5 separate regions of the Homo sapiens genome follow, and all the other regions are linked to region 4. Evidence: promoter capture Hi-C in human tissues and cell types (Jung and others, 2019). All regions are on one chromosome and are shown on one strand. Each heading gives the region's core, a stretch centred on a gene start or on the middle of the fragment in contact. The rest is flanking DNA. Distances are from core to core; before and after follow the strand shown.

The links. The method cuts DNA at HindIII sites, captures the fragments that hold promoters and counts their contacts. A contact is called where the count stands out against the background at its distance.
Region 1: a contact is called between a fragment that was not itself captured here and the fragment with the promoter of FBN1 in region 4, in 1 of the 25 tissues and cell types used here (IMR-90 fibroblasts).
Region 2: a contact is called between a fragment that was not itself captured here and the fragment with the promoter of FBN1 in region 4, in 1 of the 25 tissues and cell types used here (lymphoblastoid cells).
Region 3: a contact is called between a fragment that was not itself captured here and the fragment with the promoter of FBN1 in region 4, in 1 of the 25 tissues and cell types used here (aorta).
Region 5: the fragment with the promoter of COPS2 here is called in contact with the fragment with the promoter of FBN1 in region 4 in 1 of the 25 tissues and cell types used here (hippocampus).

What each region holds. Positions count from the first base shown.
Region 1 is chr15:48,971,491-48,976,112 of GRCh38, forward strand. It overlaps the pseudogene KRT8P24. Among named protein-coding and RNA genes, the nearest start is that of SHC4, 9.9 kb to the left of the region's middle. RefSeq lists an enhancer at 4,109-4,198 and silencers at 4,199-4,434, 4,259-4,508. The HindIII fragment of the contact is 5,600 bases long and covers 1-4,407 here.
Region 2 is chr15:48,380,147-48,384,336 of GRCh38, forward strand. No RefSeq gene overlaps it. Among named protein-coding and RNA genes, the nearest start is that of DUT-AS1, 50 kb to the left of the region's middle. The HindIII fragment of the contact is 5,458 bases long and covers 1-4,190 here.
Region 3 is chr15:49,055,302-49,059,516 of GRCh38, forward strand. No RefSeq gene overlaps it. Among named protein-coding and RNA genes, the nearest start is that of SECISBP2L, 11 kb to the left of the region's middle. The HindIII fragment of the contact is 4,062 bases long and covers 502-4,215 here.
Region 4 is chr15:48,643,975-48,648,180 of GRCh38, forward strand. FBN1 (fibrillin 1) reads right to left here and starts at 1,735. Exons shown (of 66, transcript NM_000138.5): 1 at 1,601-1,735; 2 at 632-976. The coding sequence starts at 795. It overlaps FBN1-DT (FBN1 divergent transcript), which reads left to right and starts at 1,831. Exons shown (of 2, transcript NR_183872.1): 1 at 1,831-2,856. RefSeq lists silencers at 710-759, 860-989, 1,400-1,579, 1,620-1,699 and enhancers at 1,773-2,297, 1,810-1,899. The HindIII fragment of the contact is 10,434 bases long and covers 1-4,206 here.
Region 5 is chr15:49,153,838-49,158,167 of GRCh38, forward strand. COPS2 (COP9 signalosome subunit 2) reads right to left here and starts at 1,762. Exons shown (of 13, transcript NM_004236.4): 1 at 1,688-1,762. The coding sequence starts at 1,741. It also overlaps a transcript of GALK2 not described here and the pseudogene NDUFAF4P1. RefSeq lists enhancers at 1,508-2,037, 1,796-2,714. The HindIII fragment of the contact is 9,462 bases long and covers 1-4,330 here.

The DNA of each region.
Region 1 (4,622 bases), core at 358-2,857, 330 kb after region 4:
ATGCTGCCATCAAAAAAGACAAAATCATGTCCCTTGCGTTGACATAGGTGAAACTGGAGGTCATTTTCCTAAGTGAATTGACGCAGGAACAGAAAACCAAATACTGCATGTTCTCACTTATAAGTGGTAGCTAAACATTGGGTGCTCACGGACATAAATATGGCAAAAATAGATACTGGAGACCATTGGGGGAGAAGCCAGGAGTGAGGCAAGGGTTGAAAAACTAACTACGGGACCTAGAAGTAGCTTCTCCGTTCCTTCTCGAATCTCTGCCTGGTTCAGCCTGCCTGCCTCCACTCCTGCCTCCACCATGTCCATCAGGGTGACCCAGAAGTCCTACAAGGTGTTCAATTCTGGCCCCCGGGCCTCCTAATGGGATCATTAGTACCCCAAACCTTAGCATCATGCAATATACCCTTATAACAACCCTGCACATGTACCCCCTGAATATAAAAGTTAAAAAAAATTATTGACTAAGCTTGTTGAGCTTCTCCCCAGTGGGCAGCAGCAGCTTCCGAGATGTCCTGGGCACCAGCATGGGTCTGTGTGGAGGCTATGCGGGGCCAGCGTATGGGAGGCATCACAGCCGTCACAGTCAACCAGAACGTGCTGAGCCCCCTTAACCTGGAAGTGGACCCCAACATGCAGGGCATGCACACCCAGGAGAAAGAGCAGGTCAAGACCCTCAACAAGTCTGCCTCCTTCGTTGACAAGGTACTGTTCCTGGAACAGCAGAACAAGATGCTGGAGACCAACTGGAGCCTCCTGCAGCAGCAGAAGCCGGCTCAGAGCAACATGGACAACATGTTCGAGAGCTACATCAACAACCTTCTGGGGCAGCTAGAGATCCTGGGCCAGGAGAAGCTGAAACTGGAGGCAGAGCTTGGCAACATGCAGGGGCTCTGCATGTTTTTCGTGAAGGAGGACTTCAAGAAAAAGTACGAGGACGAGATCAATAAGCCTACAGAGATGGAGAATGAATTTGTCCTCATCAAGAAGGATGTGGATGACGCTTACATGAACAAGGTAGAGCTAGAGTTTCGCCTGGAGGGGCTGACTGACGAGATCAACTTCCTCAGGCAGCTGTATGAAGAGGAGATCCCAGAGCTGCAGTCCCAGATCTTGGACACATCTGTGGTGCTGTCCATGGACAACAGCCGCTCCCTGGACATGGACAGCATCATCGCGGAGGTCAAGGCGCAGTACTAGGAAATCGCCAACTGCAGCCGGCCCGAGGCTGAGATTATGTAGCAGATCAAGTATGAGGAGCTGCAGACACTGGCTGGGAAGCACTGGGATGACCGGCGTCTTACAAAGACGAAGATTTCTGAGATGAACCGGAACATCAGCCGGCTCCAGGCTGAGATTGAGGGCCTGCCTCAAAGGCCAGAGCAGAGAGCTTCCCTGGAGTCCGTCATCGCAGATGCTGAGCAGCGGGGGGAGCTGGCCATTAAGGACGCCAAGACTAAGCTGTCCGAGCTGGAGGCCGCCCAGCAGCGGGCCAAGCAGGACATGGCACATGGCACGGCAGCTGCCTGAGTACCAGGAGCTGATGAACGGCAAGCTGGTCCTGGACATCGAGATCGCCACCTACACGAAGCTGCTGGAGGGCTAGGAGAGCCGGCTGGAATCTGGGATGCAGAATATGAGTATCCACAGGAAGACCACCAGTGGCTATGCAGGTGCGCTGAGCTCGGCCTACCGGAGCGTCACAAGCCTTGACCTCAGCTAAGGCCTGGGACTCCAGCTTTGGCTCTGGCCGGGCCTCCAGCTCTTTCAGCCGCACCGGCTCCATCAGGGCCGTGGTTGCGAAGACGATCAAGACCCGCGATGGGAAGCTGGTGTCCGAGTCCTCTGATGTTCTGCCCAAGTGAATGGCCACGGCAGCCCCGCCCAACCTATCCCTCCTGCTGCTGCCTCAGGGCCTGAGAGGGAGGCCGCTGTGCAGGGGAGCACAGGGAACAGGAGGCCCACCTGAGGCTCAGCCCTGGCCCTCAGCCCACCTGCGGGGAAGTTTACTGCCTGGGGGACCTGCCTTGCCCATGCCTCCAATTACAAAACAATTCCATTTTTTTTCCCAAAATAAAACCTCAGCTAGCTCTGCAAAAATAAAAATAAAAATAAAAAAACTATGGGGTACTATGCTCAGTACCTAGGTGATGGGATCATTAGTACCCCAAACCTTAACATCATGCAATATACCCTTATAACAAGCCTGCACCTGTACCCCCGAATATAAAAGTTAAAAAAAATTATTGACTAAGCTTGTTAAACAATGCTTCAGTATTACACTGAAAGGACATGCTGTCTACCTTTTTGCCTTATTCTTTTTAGTGATGTTTAGAAACCTATCACTAAAGGACACCAAAATGAGGGAATTTCAGGCACCAGTCAATAGATGTATATGGATAGATACATACGAGTAGATATATTAGCATTCTAATATATAATTCTCCCCTAGAAACCACCTATATGAATGGCTTTGTTGATAAAGCAAATAATGAAATTAGAGAGGAACTTTCCTGAAAGGCTAATTCCATCCGACGAGCTCAGTTATTTTTCAATCAAAAATAAAATTTGACCAACTGGGTGTAGTCTGGTGATCCAAGTGTAGCCAAGACTTTCATTTGCTTTTCAGTTAGGTTTTCTCTGGGTAGAATCACACTGGCAAGGTGGTTAGACAGAGGCAATCTGCAATAAGAAAAAGCCACTGGGAGCAGACAGACTTGAATTTGATTCTAACCATTCCATCAGCTGATAGTCTCTAAACCTTGGCTTCCTCACCTGCAAGTGGGTAACTCTAAGTATCAAAAACAATGGAGCACTGTTCCCAAACCACTGATTATCTGTAAAAATGTTTTCTCCAGTTTATATAGAAATAGTAATAATCTTAAAATACATGGGGGAAAAGGAGGACCTTATAGTGAAGTTCTATTTAAACAGTGCTTTAAAAAAAAAAAATTTGAGATTGTCCTTCCTATTTTCTGTGTGTGGTAAAATGTCTTTTCCGTTAGGAAGTAATGGCAAACATGGATACTAGGCAGCTTTTTAAATGGCTCTACCTGGCAAAACATAAGTTAGCAGCCCTATTTCTATCTCCAAATGATTTTGGATATGCTCTGGGAATCACTGTAAGGGAGTCTGTGGATTTACTTTGTGAACTAAAAATACGTGTACAAAGTAAGCTATTATTACTGTAGTCTCCCAAAGTGCCGTTGCTTGTGTAGTGATGAAAATATCGTCCAGCTGGTCCTAAAGATGCCTAAAGAACGCACACTAAAAAAAAATGCTTTTTCCCAGGAGACTAACTGGGACAGGCCTCTCACAGAGAGACAGGTCAGGGTCTGCCTCTGGGTTAAGCCCCAGACTTCTTTTTAAGAAGAGGAATTTTATCTTACAAGACTTTTGCTTTTAGTGGGAAAAGTGAATAGCATGGTAGGATTCTCTATAGAGACTAAGGAACCTCTCTGGCTTGAGTAAGTGATGAGAGGGAGGAATGCAGTTTGCTGCAGGAAAGCAGGGATAAGAGAAGGGAGGATCTAGCGCAAATTTGAGAACCTGTATGGGGCTGGTGGAGCTGGAAATGGCCAGAAGGGGCAACACAGTAGTGTTTGTATGTGGGCTGGGAGAGCCCAGGACTTCTGTCATGATAAATAGTGCTGAAATAATCCCACGGAGCCTGGTCAGCTTCTTGAGCTGACCACATGTTTTAAACTTCTTTTTTTCATTTTGCATAGAAGTACTTCATTGATAGATAAGTTACAAAGATAAGTCAGATATGAAAACTAAATTCATCCATATCCTAATTTAGCCACAATCCTTATTCACATTTTAGCGACAAAAACCACCTCAGGCTGCTTTTCCCCTATACGTATTTTTTTTTTTCAAACAAAAACAACATAATATTGTGCATACGGTTTTCCACCTGCTTTTTTAACAAAAAAAAAATCTCCATATCACTGAATAGACGATGTTACTTTAACAGCTATATAGTACCATTGTGCAAATGTGGCATAATTTAGCAAATCGGAGAGGGGGTGGATTTAGATTCCTACACACACACACACACAATAGGACAGTGATAGCCATTGTTGCTAAATCCTTCCATACAAAATGCTAATTGCAGACGCCAGATAGCGGGTATATAGGTGTATATTGTACCATTCTTCCAACTTTTTAGCATGATTGCAATTTTTCATAGAAAGATTTGGAGGAAGAAGTTTTTTTTGACATATCCTCTCACAGATCCCAGTCTGATTATCTCAGAATGAGCTCTCAGAATGAGCTCCCAGAGGTAGCATTGCCGGGCCCCGGGCTGCCTGTTTTTCGTCTGAAAGGCGGGCGGCGGATGAGTTTCCCGGATGAGCTCCGGCTGCGTGAGCTCCCCGCGGGCAGGCGCAGCGCCCCCTCGGTGCGGCGGCGGGAGCTGCAGGCCGCCAGCTCCGCGGCCGCCCCGGGCTGTGCCCTTCTCGAGAAGCCCGGCCGGGCGGCGGGGAGAGCGTCTGGTCCGCGCTTTCGCACGGTCTCCCTGAAAAAGACCAGCGGAGCACCAGGCTGCCAGGCGCACAGCATCAAAGCTGCGGGCGCCCCGAGAAGAAAAGGGCCAGTGTGCATTCCGTGAA
Region 2 (4,190 bases), core at 423-2,922, 260 kb before region 4:
TTAAAGCTCTTCTCCATTTTTTTTCTTAAACCATGTGTATTTGTTCGTTCTCACGCTGCTAGTAAAGACATATCCAAGACTGGGTAATTTATGAAGGAAAGAAGATTAATTGACTCACAGTTCCACATGGCTGGGAAGGCCTCAGGAAACTTACAATCATGGCAGAAGAGGAACCAAGATGTCCTTCTTCACACGGCAGCAGAGAGAACAAGAAGGAGAACTGAGCCAAGTGGGAAGCCCCTTATAAAACCATCAGCTCTTTTGAGAACTTATTGTCATCAGAATAGCATGGGGGAACTGCCCCGATGATTCAATTACCTCCCACTGGGTCCCTCCATGACACCTGGGGATTGTGGGAACTACAATTCAAGATGAGATTTGGGTGGGGACACTGCCATATCGTCATGCTTATTCTTATATTCATACAATATGAACTTAAATTATGCCCCACTTTATTTGTACCTATTCAGGACAGGGAGAACCCAGCAACCACCAGGGATCAGGCTTTTTCAAATGTTCATCATACACTATGCATTCATTTTCATTTTTCACCCTCATATCCCCCACAATAAAATAGGTGAGGTGCTGACCCCTGCACTGATGTCATTTCTTCGGAAACAAACATCACTGTTTCCAAGCTTGTCTATTTACTAGGCTTGGTGAGGCTGAGAATGGACAGCAGGGCAGGAAGCATTGTCCCCAATGCCCATAAGCCTTTGTTTTCTTTTCTTAGAGGATGACACTTAGAACATTCTGTTTTCACAGGTGGCCTCCTTGCTGAAATGTGAAAGGAAAATTGTGAACAGCAATTTTCAACCTGTTTACCAATGTTTTCCTGACATAGTACTCTTGTAGCTCTGCCTGCCTGGAGGGGAAAACAGGAAGGAAGCAGTGATGATTCCTTCCCTCTTTTCACTCCCAGTGGCCACCTTGGAAGGATATGAGGTGAGACTCTCTAGCTGGCCATTGAGTGCTGGCCTTAGCTTAGTCACTCAGAAACCATTGAGGAGCATCATACAGCCCTACAACCCTCCCAGGCCACATAAATTCATATGTGAACACACTGCAGAACATTTCCCCGTTGGGTATGTCCATAGTTCAAGTGAATTGAGAGTCACCTGCCCATTTAATTGAAGCAGCAAGATGAACTCTGAGCATGGGTGAAGCCTTTTGAAGCCAGGGGCAGGCAGAGGGCAGGTAAGCACTTTTCCAAAATCCAAAGCCAAAATGTAGTTATTGGTACTGTGGTAGCTCTAAAGTGTTAACATCCCTTCTGCAAATTCCTAACTTCCTCTAAGGGAATTGTTTCTACACTTAGTTCAATATTTCAAGAGAAATGCAAAATTAAGTAAACGAATCTTTTTTTTTTTTTCCTTTTTGAAGCCATCACAAACTTCTGGGTCACCTCATATTGACAAATATTTGTTGGTCAAAGAACTTAGAATACCATAGACTAAATTTTATATCAAGTGAATTCAGACCTTTATAGTTAAACCCATTCTCAGAGAAGATGAGAAACAAGATACCAGACCCTATGCTTGAATTGGAAGACTAAAGGTTATTAAAAAAAAAAAATCTATCTAAAGTGGTTACCATAGTGCCTCACCCAAAGTAGATTCTCATAATTGTAAGAGTGTTATCATTACTACTACTACTACTACTAAGGTTCTACTTTTTATAAAATAGCATAAGGATGTGTATGCTGAAAAATTTCTTAGTGATTATAACAATTAGGATGCTTTTGACAGCAAGTAACAAAAGACCTATGCAACTCAACATGGCTTACATGATAAAAATATTTATGATCCATATGAGAAGTCTAGTGGTAAAACAGTTCCTGAATGGGTTAATTCAGCACTTCCTTTATGTAATAAGGAACGTAATTCTTTCCATCTTGTCTGGCCTGCCAGGCTGACTGTGTCAGGTTTTGTTTTTTCCTCTAACGGTCCTATGGCTGAGACTCTAAATATTGCATTCTCACACACGTATATCTAAGTCTGGAAGACAGAAGCCTCCTTCCCTATGTCTCTTTTTAAGAGTGAGAAAAACTTTCCCAGAAACCTCATTGCAGACTTCACTTTCATCTCAGTGGCCGGAATTGTATGGCATGCCCATTTCCAAACCAAGGAAGGACAAAGGACTATATAATGCTCATAACTGGTCTGGGGGAAGAGGCCAATACTTCCTGAAGCCCATGTACTCCTGATACCCGAACAACATCAGGTGAATTCAGGTTGAAGAAATGGGGAATGGTCATTGGGTGCACAACCAACAGTAACAGCCACAGTGTTGGAGCTTTATGTTAATGTAATCAACCTGATTTCAGCCTATACTTTTCACAGGTCTAACTTTAGACTCTTTGAGATAGCAATGAAATCTTATTTGTCATTAGATTCTCCCCAAAATGCTTAACATTAAATGATTTTGTAGCTCAATAAAGTAAGACAATTACATATCTTTTCCATAGTTATGTTTTGTTTTCATTATGAGAACTGAGAGCTCAACTAATTAATAAAAACAGGATTTCCGGTTGTTATTTTTCCCCTGGTGACTTTTCCTTTTACGTTTATCCTGAGTTAAGAAAGTCTGAAACTGTCTTCATTAGGGTTGAACATTACCATGAGAATAGAGAGTAGAAAGCTAAGAAAAGCGTGCCATCAGAAATTTCTTTTTTCTAGGTTTCATCTCTATTCTTATCAAAATTTCAAATGTAATGGAGGTAGTGGGAAGAATGAATATTTTTGTTTGATGGAATCAAAATACCAAATTTTTCATTGAACTGAAATGATTAAAACTAATTTTTATGAGAAAAACAAATATAAGTTGCTAAATCAAATCCAAAAACCAATTACTAAAGTGCAAAAAGGAGGTATGGGAGAATGTGTGAGTGGTAAATCTGACCCTGCATGAAAAAACACTTAGACATTGATTTGGAAAAGCGTTATACTGCAAAAGCAATCCCAAAATCTTGTGCACAATGCAATAACAGTTTATTTTTCACTCAAGCAAATTGTGCTGCATGTCTGGGCAGCGTGCTAGGGCTGCTGTCCTCCATGTGTTGGCTCAGCATTCCAGCTTGATTCAATCTATGACAACTCTGTATCAACACATGGGTTGACAATAGTCAGGATGGGCAAAGAGATGCCTGGAAAGATGAGAATAAGCACTTAAGTGCCTGAACCTGGAACTGACATGTGATACTCTACTCATTTCCTATTGGCCACAGCTGGTAACATGACTATTTAAAAAACTGTTTTTCTCTATTCTCACAACACTTCTAACACTAAATTTGTGGGGATTTTTCTCACACCAACCAATTTTTCCAATTTTCAACTAGGTGTCCTACAATTTAACTCATTTCTGACACTATCTGCCCAGAGTTGGTGCCGACCCCACAGGTTGAGGCCTCAGTCCTACAAGAATGCACCACTAAAGGATCCCGAGCACAGAAGTTTCTGTCTCCATGGAATTTGGGGTGCTCCATCTTCCCAGCATGTGGATGCATTCTTGTTCACCAACCTGGAAGCTCTTCAAACCCCTTTGCTTAATTTTTTTAGGAAGGCTTCATGATATAGGCATGATTGATTAAATCACTGGCCATTGATGATCAACTCAACCTCTAGCCCCTCGCCCCTCCCAGAAAGGCAGAGGGTGTGAAACCAAGTTCCAATCCTCTAATCACATGGTTGGTTCTTTTAGCAACCAGTTCCTATCCTGAAGCCATCCAGGAACCCCAGCCACCAGTCATCTCATTAGCATACAAAATACACTTATCATTTGGGAGATTCTAAGGATTTTAGGAACTGTATTCCAGGAAAGAAGGGCAGAGACAAAATATATATTTTGCATTCTGTCACAATGACCATAGCTATCTTCAAGAGGCAGGGGAGTGTACTACTTCCATGTGCTCAGAGAGTAGAGCAGAACTGGTGATTGGTGACCAAGGGCGTGGCCTAGTCAAAAATTCTAGTGGGAAGTAAATTAATTATGAGTTCAAAATACCACAGGCTTTAAGAAACAGATAAATAGGAAACAAAGTCAATAGAAGTAAAATCTCAGAATGAAGAAACTGATAATGGTGTTGGTTCCTCTCCCTGAACAGAATATACATTGAGTGCTGTGTTCATATGAGGGACTGAACTTCAAGAGGTCCTCCGGAGGTGTTCAGAGGGAAGTAACTAGATGCAGAA
Region 3 (4,215 bases), core at 1,283-3,782, 410 kb after region 4:
TCATCAGGCATTAGATTCTCATAAGGAGCGTGCAACCTAGATCCCTTGTGTGCACAGTTCACAATAGGGTTCACGCTCCTATGAGAATCTAATGCTGCTGCTGATCTGACAGGAGGTGGAGCTCAAGTGGTAATGCCAGAGATGGGGAGCAGCTGTAAATACAGATGAAGCTTCACTTGCTTGCCCACTGCTCACCTCCTGCTGTACAGCCTGGTTCCTAACAGCCCATGGACAAGTACCTGTTAGGGGGACCCTGGTATACAGTCCTGAGTCTGAAAGGGCTGTTTAGAGTTATGAGACTATGGATACAAGGTTTGCGGTCCCAAAGTTTTGCTGCAGTGTGTGTGGCAAGGGCAGTCTTTCTCTTCACTTCCAGAAGACCCAATATCTTGGTTCTATATCATCAATGTTTTAATTATCCTGAGTCAATGGGTCATTAAAATTTCCTTTGCCTGACTAAAATACACTTTGGCATAATGCATTAAAGCCTTGCGGCAATTAGTCATATCAGAGTACAGGAATGGAAGAGATATAATGTTCTATTATTAGGAGGATAGGCCTTCCAGTGACTGTTTCATAAGGGGTCAACTTATGTTTTCCTCTGGAAGTGGATCTGATTGCCATCAATCTTCAATACTTTGGATCAAGGCAATCCAGTCGATTCATTTAGCTTTGCCTAATGCTATAATACTTTATTTAACTTTTCTACAACCTGTCCAGTGAAACAAGTACCTCCATCACTGGAGATTTCTTCAGAATTCCCCATGAGGGAAACACATTTTAAAATAACCTTTTAGCTACTGTTATAGCATTGGCCTTCTTGCATGGGAAAGCTTCTATACAATCAGAAAATGTGCGTAGAATGGCAAGTGAATGAAATGCCCTCATAAATGTTCAAAAGGCTCATCATGTAGCAGAAATGTACCCCAAATTTTGATATTTTCCCTTAATTATGGATTTGACAAACTAAACATTGATCATAAGCCATTTTAGCAGTTTAGAATAGTCACCACACACACACACACACACACACACACACACACACACATAATTTAAATCATTTTACCTCTTTCCTAATAAGTCATAGGGTATACAGCTTTTAATAATGGAAGCTATAAGGACTCAGGAAGGGCCAGGCAGCCATCCAGGCTCTCCATGAGTCCACACTTAACATTGGATTTTTATCATTCTTAAATAGCGATTTTGTTGCACAGCACTGTTTGTTAAATCTGTTATCATAGGTAATTTGCCTTGGGCCATGGAGTTCATTTAAGTTGAATTTCTTAACAATTTCAGTACTGGCTCATTTTGCATAACATTTGGCAAAATTTTTTCTTGATATTCAATCAATTCTTGTCCTGCTTGGTTTAGCAGTTTTATGAATCAGTCAGTCTCTTCATGAGAGTTCTAGGAATTCCTACCCAGTCCAAATTATATGATCCTAAAGTTATCAGAACCGTGTATTCAAGAGTGCTTCTCAGGGTCCTTTCCATCCTTTCCATGAGCCTCCTTGAAGGCACAATACTCTAGGATTTTAGTTGCTTATAAATAGCTTTCAGAAAATGCACCAGAATTAAGCAATTAACTGGAAGCAAGACTTAAAATGGTCACGGTTAAAGACACAATTGACAAGGAAATTTGGTTATTTCTGTGACCTACAATAATTAAACATACTAACTATAACTATGACTGATAACATATACCAAGACATATCAGAATTTTAGGAGTCTCATACAATTTTAGAACATATATTAATAACATATCCTTAAAAATATAACATGAGAAGGTTAAACATCATTTCTTATTTGGCAGTAGTCAAACTTCAGAAGCTTAAATAATGCAGGAACAATTTCTTAGCATTACTAGTGTTCCTACAGTCATGATACTGCACATTGCAATTTTAAATATTAAAGTCCACTATTAACCAAAGTCAGATGAGGAACAAGATTATTTTTGGCTAGCTCTGCTAGTATAGGATACTTCTGATAGTGATGTCATCATCTGTTATTAAGCTTCCCTTCCTTTCTAATAGAAACTAAGTTTTATCCGCTTTTCTGCTGCTGGACTTGAAGATTTGGTCAATGGACATGATTCCATTTCATTGAAGCCCCCTAGAAACTGAAGTTTGTGCTGTGCTTGAAGAAGATGCTTTGTGGATATTTTCAGATGCACACCTAAGATTGTTATTCTCATTTAAAATTTTAATTTCTAATATGCGTTTATTTCTGCATGCCTTTTATTATTAATTACATTGTATGAATATTAGTGGTTCAAAAGGATGTAATTTTCTTTCTAAATTTATGTAGCCCATCTTTTGTATAATTGTATTAATTTTCAATTATTTTCTTACCTAACTACTTGAAAGTTCTACATTTTTGCATAAAATTAACAATTTTCACAATTACCTTTATTACTGAAGTTTATATTAAACAATTAATAGAATTTCAACAGAGGAAATACATCCAAAATGCTTACCTATATTTGAAAGTGCATATCCATATATTAACACTAACTCTGACTAACATACTTTGCTCTTATAATTTACATAGTTATGCTGATTAGATATAATGGTTACCCAGTAAGATCACATGATGGGGAGGCCATACCCAGTTTAGACTTGCCAGAAGGTGAAATAGAAATTTGACAATATGACCTTCCAAAGGCCAATGCTAAAGGTGAAATTGAAAAGCAAATTTTGGCCAATGCTGAGGCCAGGGCACAGCTGAACTGGAGTATGTATCTCTCATTATTTGCAGGAAAGTAACATGATCTAATGGCAAGAGGGTGGTTAGGGTGACAGAACAGACCATGGAATCAAACCTGAGTAAAGATAGTATGAATCAAAATTACTAGAGATAATATCTTTATGTTTTCAGCATATAAGATGAATCCACCAAAATTCCTAAAAACTAGTGGCAAACTCATAAGAAAAAAGATTCCATTGATAATATAAGTGTTATGATGGAAAGAGCACTACTAGACTAAGACTTGATAACTTGGGTTTAAATTTTATCTATACCCATTTCAGGCCATGTGCCCTCAAAAGTCGCTTAAGCTTCCCTGGGCCTCAGTTTCCTCATCTGCACAATGCATGGGATTGTTGAGGGGTTCGAGTTGAGGTAACGAATGCAAGAACACATTGCAAGCCCTAGAGGAGTGGTTCTCAATCTGTGGCACTCTTAAAGCTAGAATATTCAGTCCCCTCTTAGACCGATTAAGTCAGAATCTCTGGAGCAGATAATCTCCCAATCAGCCATAGTCAGCCATAAAATTTTAAGTCAGATCATGTCACTCCTCTCTTCCAAGGAGCTCCAGTGGAGCTTCCCATCTCAGAGTAAAAGCCCAAGTCCTTAGAGGGGCCATTGAAGTCCCTATGATCAAGCCCCTACCATGCCTCTGGCCTTAATTCCTATTCCTCACTCACTTGCTATTCACTTGCTCACTCCTTGCTGTTCCCTTGTCATTCTAAGCACACTCTCATCTTGAGATCCCTTGGCCTTGCTGCTTCCACTGGCAGGAACTCCCTACCCCCAGTTAACCCACATGGCTCAAGCCCTCACTTCAGGCCTTTTCTTAAATGTGACCTTGGAGTGAGGCCTTTTCTGACCACCTTCTTTAAAGCAGGATGCAATACAGAGCGATCTAATGGACTATGGAGACTCAGAAGGAGGAAGGTAGAAGAGGGGGTGAGGGATTTAAAAAACTACATATTGGGTATAATGTACACTACTTGGGTGATGCGTGCACTAAAATCTCAGGCTTCACCACTGTATAATTCATCCACGTAACCAAAAACCACTTGTACCCCTCAAAGCTATTGAAATTTTTAAAAAAGAAAAAAAGAAAAAAAAAACAGCATGCAAACACACACACTGCCTCTCCTTTCCAGCTTTTTCTCCGTAGCACTTATCATCATCTAAAATGCTGTATGTCTGTTTTGTTTATTGACTGTCATTTTTATCTCAAATATAAGCTCCATGAAGGCAGGGATTTTGTTTGTTGTGCCCACTGCTCGATGTTTCCAGTGCTTGGAACACTGCCTAGCACATAGCAAGCCCTCAGAGCACATTTATTATTGCTATTCCAAATGGAAGCTCTGAGCATGCACCTTATTCAATCTACAAACTTCATTGATGGCTCACTGCCTATCCCAAATGTATTCTGTGCTTTCCCACCTCCCTGACTTTGTTCACACATTTTTTTTCTACTTAGTGT
Region 4 (4,206 bases), core at 485-2,984:
AAGGCCGGCCACAGCAGCCTTACTGCTGCAGTGAAACGGAGAGCCCCACACAACTCAAAAAACCAGTTCTCAGAACCACTTGCCCTGTTCTGCTTCCAATGTAGACATCTAAAGGAAGCATTGCCCAGAAAACCCAATCCGTAATTTTAATAAGCATAATTTACGGAAGAGTCAACTACTGTGTGATTTCTCCTCTGACTGTCATGGGAATCCCTTCCTTTCCTTGCCCCCTTTCAAATACAGCATCTACCAAGATGACCCCAAGGAAAGTACTTTCCTCTAGAAACAACCAGAATTGATATTGCAGGGAAAGGAACGGGCTTCTCCTCTTATCCCACTCGCAACTCCTCCCCTTCTTCCCCAAGGAACTCTTCTCGCCTCCCAAAATCTGCCTCAACAATGGCCCAAGATTCCATTTAACCACGTCCTCTCCTTTGGGGCAGAAATCTCTGGGAGTAGGGGCAAGGTAGTTTAACCACGAACGGGGTGGGGACTAAACAACCCTAGCACCTCTAAGGTGCCCCCAGGAGGTCTTGCCAAGGAGTCTTCCACAGGGAGAGTCATCCTGCCCGTTGTTCTGGATCTTGAAACTTGGGAGACCCACACCAAAGGAGGGAACCGGTTCCTTTACCCTTTAAGCGCGTCGTGTCCTCCACCGCCTCTTCTCTTGGCCCGACTGGCTCTGGTTTCCTTCACGTTCCCAGCCTCCAAATTGGCGTCCGCCCCATGGCTCGTGTAGGACGCTAAAAGCACGGTAAATCCCAGGGCGATCTCCAGCAGACGCCCTCGACGCATGATGCCGAGCCGCCACCGGCTCCCGCCGCCTCTTGCCGCGCCCGGGGCTCGGTCTGCGGCCGCCGCTGCGCCCTGAAGCGCACCGCGCCGCCGGGGTCCCGCTATCCCGCCGCCCGTCCCCCGGGCCGGGCTCCTCCCGCCTTCTCCAGGCGCTGCTCCCACTTCAGGCGGCCCCTGCCAGCTGCAACACAGAGACAAATCCCCGAGGCGGGGAGACTTTCAGGGCATCGGGATGCTGAAGCCTCGCGGTCCCCATTCCCAAGCCCAACCCGTGCGCCGCCTGCGCGTGGCGCAGTTAATTTGGGTAAGGGAAGACCGTTTGGTCCACAGCTGGCTGGAAAGCCCAGGCCCCCGGCGGCAGCAGCCCCGGCCGATCCCTCGGCCTCCCGGGCCCCGCCAGAAGAGCGCGGCGCAAAGTACCCATATCCCCAGCGGTCCTAAGCCCCGGGCGAGCTCTCTGGGTTTATTTTTTTTAGCGGCACGAATTGCGCGCGATGCGCGCTCTGAACGCCCCACTCCTCAGCCTGCCCTCTCCGCCAGGCTGGAAGCCAGCCGCGCCGTCCCCGCCGACTCCGGGCGATGCCACCGCCCCCCGAACATCTGACGCGGAGCCCGGCACCAAGAGCCCCGGGCCAGGAAGCTGTCAGGCAGGGGAGGGCCAGCGCCAGCTGTGGACGTTCCGGGACAGCCCCTCACCCCAGTCCCTGTCCCTGCCCTCGGCGCGGCGCAAACGCAAAAGCCTCCGTGGCCGCAGCTCCAGCCCCGGTGGCCGCCCGACCCCCGTCGGGACCCCGGCTGCACCCACTGGAGAAGCGGCGGCTCCGACTCCCGAGGAGGCGGCGGCGGCTGCTCCCAGTCGTGGCCGCTACAGCCACTGCTCGGCTCCGCTCGCAGCTGTCCCAGCTGTGGCTCCTGTCCGCTTGTGGCACCCACAGTCTCTGCCGCGGCTCCCGCAGCCCCCTCCTTTCCCCACCTCTTCAAGTATCGTCCGCGCAGCGGTTTCTCGCGAGAGAAATACTTTTTTTAAAAAAAGAAAGAAAAAGAAAATGACACCCCCTCCTTCGTCGCCCTCATCACCACCCCACCCCCCGGCCCCATCCATCCTCCCTTTCCACTCCCCTTTGCCAGCCTCCGCCTCGGTGCGGGGCCTCTCGCTCGCAGGATTAGCGCAGTGGGAGGAGGCAGAGGTGATCAGGTCCTGCCCGGCCTGGGACTTTTTGTCTTGAGGTGGGGAGGGGAGAAATGGGAAGAGGTGGAGTAGCGGTTTTAGCCCGCTCTGCGGCTGCGAGGTTTAGATCCGAGATTAACCTCTCCCGCGATAGGTGAAGCCCTACCGGAGCAGAAAGCTGTTCCACCTGCACCAAGAATGCGCGCTGGAGACGGTTGCCCCGGAGGCCCTGGCCCGAGAGAAAACCAGTCCCCGCTGCCCGCGCCTCCCGGTAGCGCGCTCCCTGCGCCTCTCCCGCCGGACACTCAGCAGACGCCGGAGGCCGGGAGGCTAAGACTGGGCGCGTCGCAGGCCGGGACCGCGGCAGAGGCTGCTGTGCCGACCGAGGAGAGGGCTCTGCCGCCCCCACTTGCCCTGGGTGTCGAGAGCCCACTCCAGACGCGGCTCTTCTGAGGCTCAATTCAAGCCACCCAGGCCTGAATCCAGGGTGCTCTCTCTAAGTCGGTGTCCAACCCAGGGGCCTGTAAATGTTGGAACCTAGGATGTAGGATGGGAGCGGTGAAGGGATGGTCCTCTTGCCCAGCCCAGATTAAGACTGGGGTTCATCTGGAGGACTCTACTTACACCCTCCCGGTCCCCTCGCCCTCCCCCACACACAGCTGCCTCTCCCCAGGATATGCGCGGCACAGTGAATTTAGTGGCTTTGAAAGGTATAGTATTTGTGGCATCCTTATATGGATAATGCCCAATGATGCCTGCACCCTGTAACAGTTTAGGAAGGCCTGAAGTCGCACACTGGGTCCTGGCTGCTGTAACTGGAGACCCCCAGAAGATCCCCTGCAAGCAGCCACCAGCCTGCTGTCAAGCCAATAATAAAAGCTCAGCACAAACAGGTACCCTGGGAATGTATCTTGTTGAAAGGGATTTTCCTTATTTGTAACCGTTTGTAAAGGGGCCCAGACAGTAGGGTAGAGAGACCTGGGCAAGTTATTCAACTTCTTTCCAAATACAAGATGGGACTTGTAGTGTCCACCACACAGGGTTGTAATGGTGATGATGGACATGCTGAACTGCTGTGATACATGAAGATGAAACAGAAAAACTGTGGGAACTATGAGCTGATCTAAAGCCATAGTCCTGTAAGTATGTATGTGGTGTACTTTAAGGTCTCACCTGCAAAAGGTCTCTTAGCAGATTCATGAATGAGAGCCTTGGTCACACACTCCTGGCTGAGTAAAGGAGATCATTCATTCAAGATGTTTTTACTGAGCACGAACTGTGTACTACTTAGTGCATTGTTGAACTAGACTTCAACAATTTTAACAAGGCAGGTTCAACAATTTGAACACGACTGACTTCAACAATTTAGTGAAAAGGGCAGAAATGTGTCTCCCCTCACACAGCAGGTAGTCAACAAGGAAAGGCAGACTTGAAACAAATAATGGACCAATTGTTAAGCGCCAAACAGGATAAGTACTGGGTGCTTGCTTGGAGGATATATAACAAGGGGACTTGACCTAGGCTAGGGCTGATCAGGAAAGGGATCCCTGAGGAAGTGATATTTAACTTAAGTCTAAAACATAACTAGACTCTACTTAGGATAGCAGTTCTCAACCCTGGCTATGCAGTAAAATAATAAGAGGCTTTAAAAAAATTCTGACACCAGGATGGGCATGGTGGCTCATGCCTGGGCCTGTAATCCCAGCACTTTGGGAGACCAAGGCGGGTGGATCACTTTAGACCAGTAGTTCAATAGCAGCCCGACCAACATTGTGAAACCCTGTCTCTACTAAAAATACAAAAATTAGCCAGGTGTGGTGGTGCATGCCTGTAAATCTTGCTACTCAGGAGGCTGAGGCACTAGAATCGCTTGAACCTGAGAGGTAGAGATTGCAGTGAGAGGAGATTGTGCCACTGCACTACAGCCTGGGCAGAACAGAGTGAAACTCTGCCTCAAAAAAAAAAAAAAAAAAAAAAAATCTGACACTGACACCAGGCCCCAACACCCAGAGTTTCTGATTTGAGTAGTCTGTAGTGGATTCTTCACATGGATATTTTTTAAAGCTCCCTGGGTAGGGAGGGGTAAGGAGGTAATTCACACTGGGAAAAGGATCTGAGCAGAGGGACCATGGATTAGGAGAAAGCAGGGCTGTTGGACATCCAGAAAGGCCTTGTCCTGCCCACCAGTTTTCTGGGCTGCTCTGCACCCACAGGGGACTCTGGAAACTGCATGCTTTCCTTGT
Region 5 (4,330 bases), core at 512-3,011, 510 kb after region 4:
ATTTCACGGTGGTAGAGAGTAGAATGATAGGAAGGGTGTTGTGGGGGGAAGAGGAGTGGGGAAGTAAGAGAAGTTGGTTAATGGTATGTACAAACCAACAGTTAGATAGAAGGAGTAAGTTCTAATGTTTGACAGCGGAGCAGGGTGACTATGGTTAAAACGTATTTTATATTTCAAAATATCTAGAAGAGATGACTTTAAATATTCCCTAGACACAGAAATGATAAAAACACAAGGTGATGGATATCCTAAATACCGACTTGATCACTACATATCCTGTGCATGTAACGAAACCCCCCATAAATATGTACAAAATACTATGAATCAATTAAAAAAATACAAGCACATATAAAAGAAACATTTTGATAACAAAACACCTGTAATATAAATAAACAGGTAATAAGTAAAAATGGACAGATACATATTCTTAATGAACTGAAGTCACTGCCTACAACTGGCTTGCACAAACTAAAATGTAAGGTAGAAACCATAACTATTAGCGAAACTACATTTAACTTTAAAAATTATAAAAATCTCTACTATGACTTTCAAATAATAGCGAGAATTTCCTTTCTCCCTTTTGCAAAGTGTGCCTTATTTTAAAATGCAAAAAACTGAAAATATATACGAAAAAGTTATAGACTAATTCAAAACAATGTATTAATATTTTGACAATCTCTGGCACTTAAAATGAGTCAGACGTCCCAAAACATCTATTTCGTAACTTTATGATAATGCAGCATCACCATAAAAGAACCATATGAAACACCCCCAAAATAAAGAAACACAGCAAAATTGACGTTAATTCTGGATCAAGATAATTTTCTGAGTTTCCACACGATGTTTTTGAATAGCAAACGTTATTCAAACTTGCAAATCCATTAATAAATGAAGCTTTGAATCTTTAAAAATCTCCATTCGGTCAGAAAAATTCGTTTATTTCTATGCTGTTGCTGTTTTAAACTTTGTATACTGGGAAATTTCTAAGGGAAAAGCCATGGGTTCAATTATCTTTCACCCGTCCTCCAAAAACACCACAAGCAAAACCTCCTCCCCAGCTTTTCTTTATAAAGAACTGAAAAAGTGGTTCGACTACCTTTTTTTCAGTTATCTTTGCTCTGAACTCTCCCCTACACACTTACCTCGGACCAAAACTGGCCCTGGCAAGACTATTTAAGCTATGTCTCCAGGAGACTCACAAGTTGCGTTTCGCAGTCAGGCCTGGGAGCAGTAAGGACACCCCCGTTTTCTGACTTCTCCTAGCATTTCGCACCCGCTCAGTTCCAGTGTGAAGAAGTGGGGGCCCGGAACGCTGGGCCCGAAAGGGCAAAGCCAGGGCCTACACCGCAGCATGGTCACCGAGGCGGCTAGCGCGGTGGGGAGGCAGAAGACAGAGAACCGAACGCCTGGGACCAGGGGCATCCGTGTAAACCGAAGAGGCGCTCAGACTCGGAGGGCAAGGCCCGGGGCCCCCTTCGCTGCCTCCTTTGCCCTCCCTTCCCCCATGCTGGAGAAGCAGGGCCCGGGCCCGGTGCGGGAACGGGGAGGAGGTAAACCAGTCCTGTCACCGCACTGAGAGAGGCTGTAAACGGCACATGCTCTACGGGGAGAGGCCGCGGGCGCCCCGGCCCGGACCCCGAAAACAAGACACATCACCACCCTCAGAGTTCCATTCCCTGCGCCTCACCAGGTCGTAGTCCTCCTCATCATCGCACATGAAATCATCCTCCATGTCAGACATCTTGGCCGGGAGGGGGAGGAGAAATTGGAGACAACCTCCTCCCACAATCCTCCGCGGCTCAGAGGCGTCACTCTCAGCTTCTTTCCGCCTTCCAGTCCCTCTTAGAGGAGCTGTTTCCTGCCGGAACTAATTATCTCGACTTGTAGCTGATTCGCTACGACTCCAAAAGAGACTGCACCACCCCCCGTTTCCTCCGAAGTGGTTGGTGCCTTAGCAACTAAAGCTGGCAACTGGGACATCGTCCGGTGCTGCAGGTCTCAGCCGAAGGGCGTCGGAAACTGCGCTCGCATCGAGCAGTTTCCAGCCTCCTGGGTAAAGGAGCAGTCTCCTCCCTTGCTTGGGACTCTGGACGCATCTCATTCCGGTGAAAGTAAGGGACAGCTTAGGACCAGAAGCCTTTCGCGGAGAAAAGGCTGACATGCCCGTCCTATATGACAGGTATTATTTCTGCTATCATTGTACGTGTGCATTTAGCCCACACATTGCGGTGGGTGTTCCTAAGATACTTGGAGTACTTTTCAGCAACACAGTTTACACTTAATGCTTGTTATATTTGTAGTTGACAAAACAATTCTATGGATATCCTAAATTAGGTATGCAGCTATCAGTTGAGTTGCCTTAAATCTTACTCAGTTGTTCAACGAGTTGTAAACTGACCTTTACAGCCCTTGGGACCAAATTAAGGTAACAACGACTGGTTTTTAAAAAATACATTACTGTGAACCTGAGGGCATCATGTTGTAAGGAGATGGGGGCTGCGGTGACTCGCGGGATCAGGAATTTCAAGAGAACCGAGCGGAAAGGGAAATCCGCAACATGAAGCCCTCTCTCGCTCCCAGGCACCCCTCTACCAGCAGCCTCCTGCCAGAGCAGATTAGTCTCTATCCAGAAATTAAGGGAGAGATTGCTCGTAAAGATGACAAGCTGCTGTCATTTCTAAAATATGTGTGTGTTGATTCCAAAGATCCTGTGTCTTCCGTGCAGCTGAAAGCTGCTGAAACACGTCAGGAGCCAAAGAAATTCAGATTGCCGAAAGGCCATCACTTTGATATGATAAATATTAAGAGCATTCCCAAAGGCAAAATTTCCACTGTAGAAGCATTGACACTTTTCAATAATCATAAACTTTATCCAGAAACATGAACTGCTGAGAAAATAGCGCAAGAATATCATTTAGAACAGAAAGATGTGAATTCCCTTCTTAAATATTTTGTTACTTTTGAAGTCAAAATCTTCCCTCCTGAAGACAAGAAAGCAATACAATCAAAATGAAGAAAATCACAAAAATTTCCTATGTGTACTCCTCATCCCTCATCCTGTATATTTTCTTATTTTTGCATATTAAATTATGTTAATTACCAAGTGTTTAATGCTCTCATTGTGAGAGCATCCTCTTAATATTTATTGAGCTCCCTGAATTTTCAAGATTGCCATAGACTGTATTTTGTTTTCTTTTAATTTGGTTTAGGCATATTTCATATGTACATGTTAGCATGACTAATCAGCACATCTGTACCTTTATTATAAGTAAAAGAGTTAATTTGTTATTTTAGACACATCATACCAACTTTTAAATTGGTCATATGACCCCTTGGGAAGTGTCCTGAATCCCTCATTTAAGTTTTCCTATCCAATTTAGGTGTTTAGTTCATTCTTCATATGTGATAGTGAAAGTAAAAGCTTTCCTGACTCTTAAGACTGACATTTTCTTGCTAGGGAAAGAGACTCGATAGTAAGGTAGACTAACAGTATTTCCCAAATAAAGGCACATAGGAGAAAATAAAGAATCAATAAAATCTAATTAAAATTACTACCCCAGGGAATAAGAAGTATTGAGGATTTATTTTATTTTGAATTGGTTTTAAGTATGGAATAATTGTCTTTACAGTTATAAAAAGTAATTAGTGGTGTTTACGAAATGTTGGGAATTTCTGCTTTGACAAATAGTTAAGTCCCATGGCCTTCAGAGAGAGAGGCAGTAGTAGAAACTTTCGAAAAAGTAACATTTCTCTGGATTTAACATGGAACTAGAAAAATTTAAAGAATAATTAAAAAACCATGGTAAATGAAATTTGGTGATTATATATAGTTTTGGATGTTAATGCTAGTTGAGAGAAGAGAGAAAAAATAGCAAGTAGAAGCAGAGAACAGGATCATTGGAAGGGACCTGAGAAATTGCTGCTTTATCCATTTTAGCAAACTTATTAGCACGGCATGTACCAGTACTAGGATCTTGAGTAAGAGTGTGTGAGTTTAGCTCTGCCTAATATATTACTACTTGTGGGATCTTTGGGAGACTATGTCCTCTTTGAGATTGAATTTCTTCTATAAAATGAGCATAATGCTACCTTACTTAAATTTAAGGGTTATCATGAAGATAAGTGAAATAGTAAAGGACTACAAAAGACCAAGGGAATAATGAATTTTTTTTTTGTAGTGGAGAAACGCCTGGGGAGAATATATGACCTAAGGTTTCTGTAGTTTATGACCTAACCAGGCCCAGAACTTAGTTTTTCAAATCCTAGTAGTGTGTTTTTTCTGATGTGCCAAAAAGCAGCACACCTCAGAGAAGGGAATAAGTGTGAATTG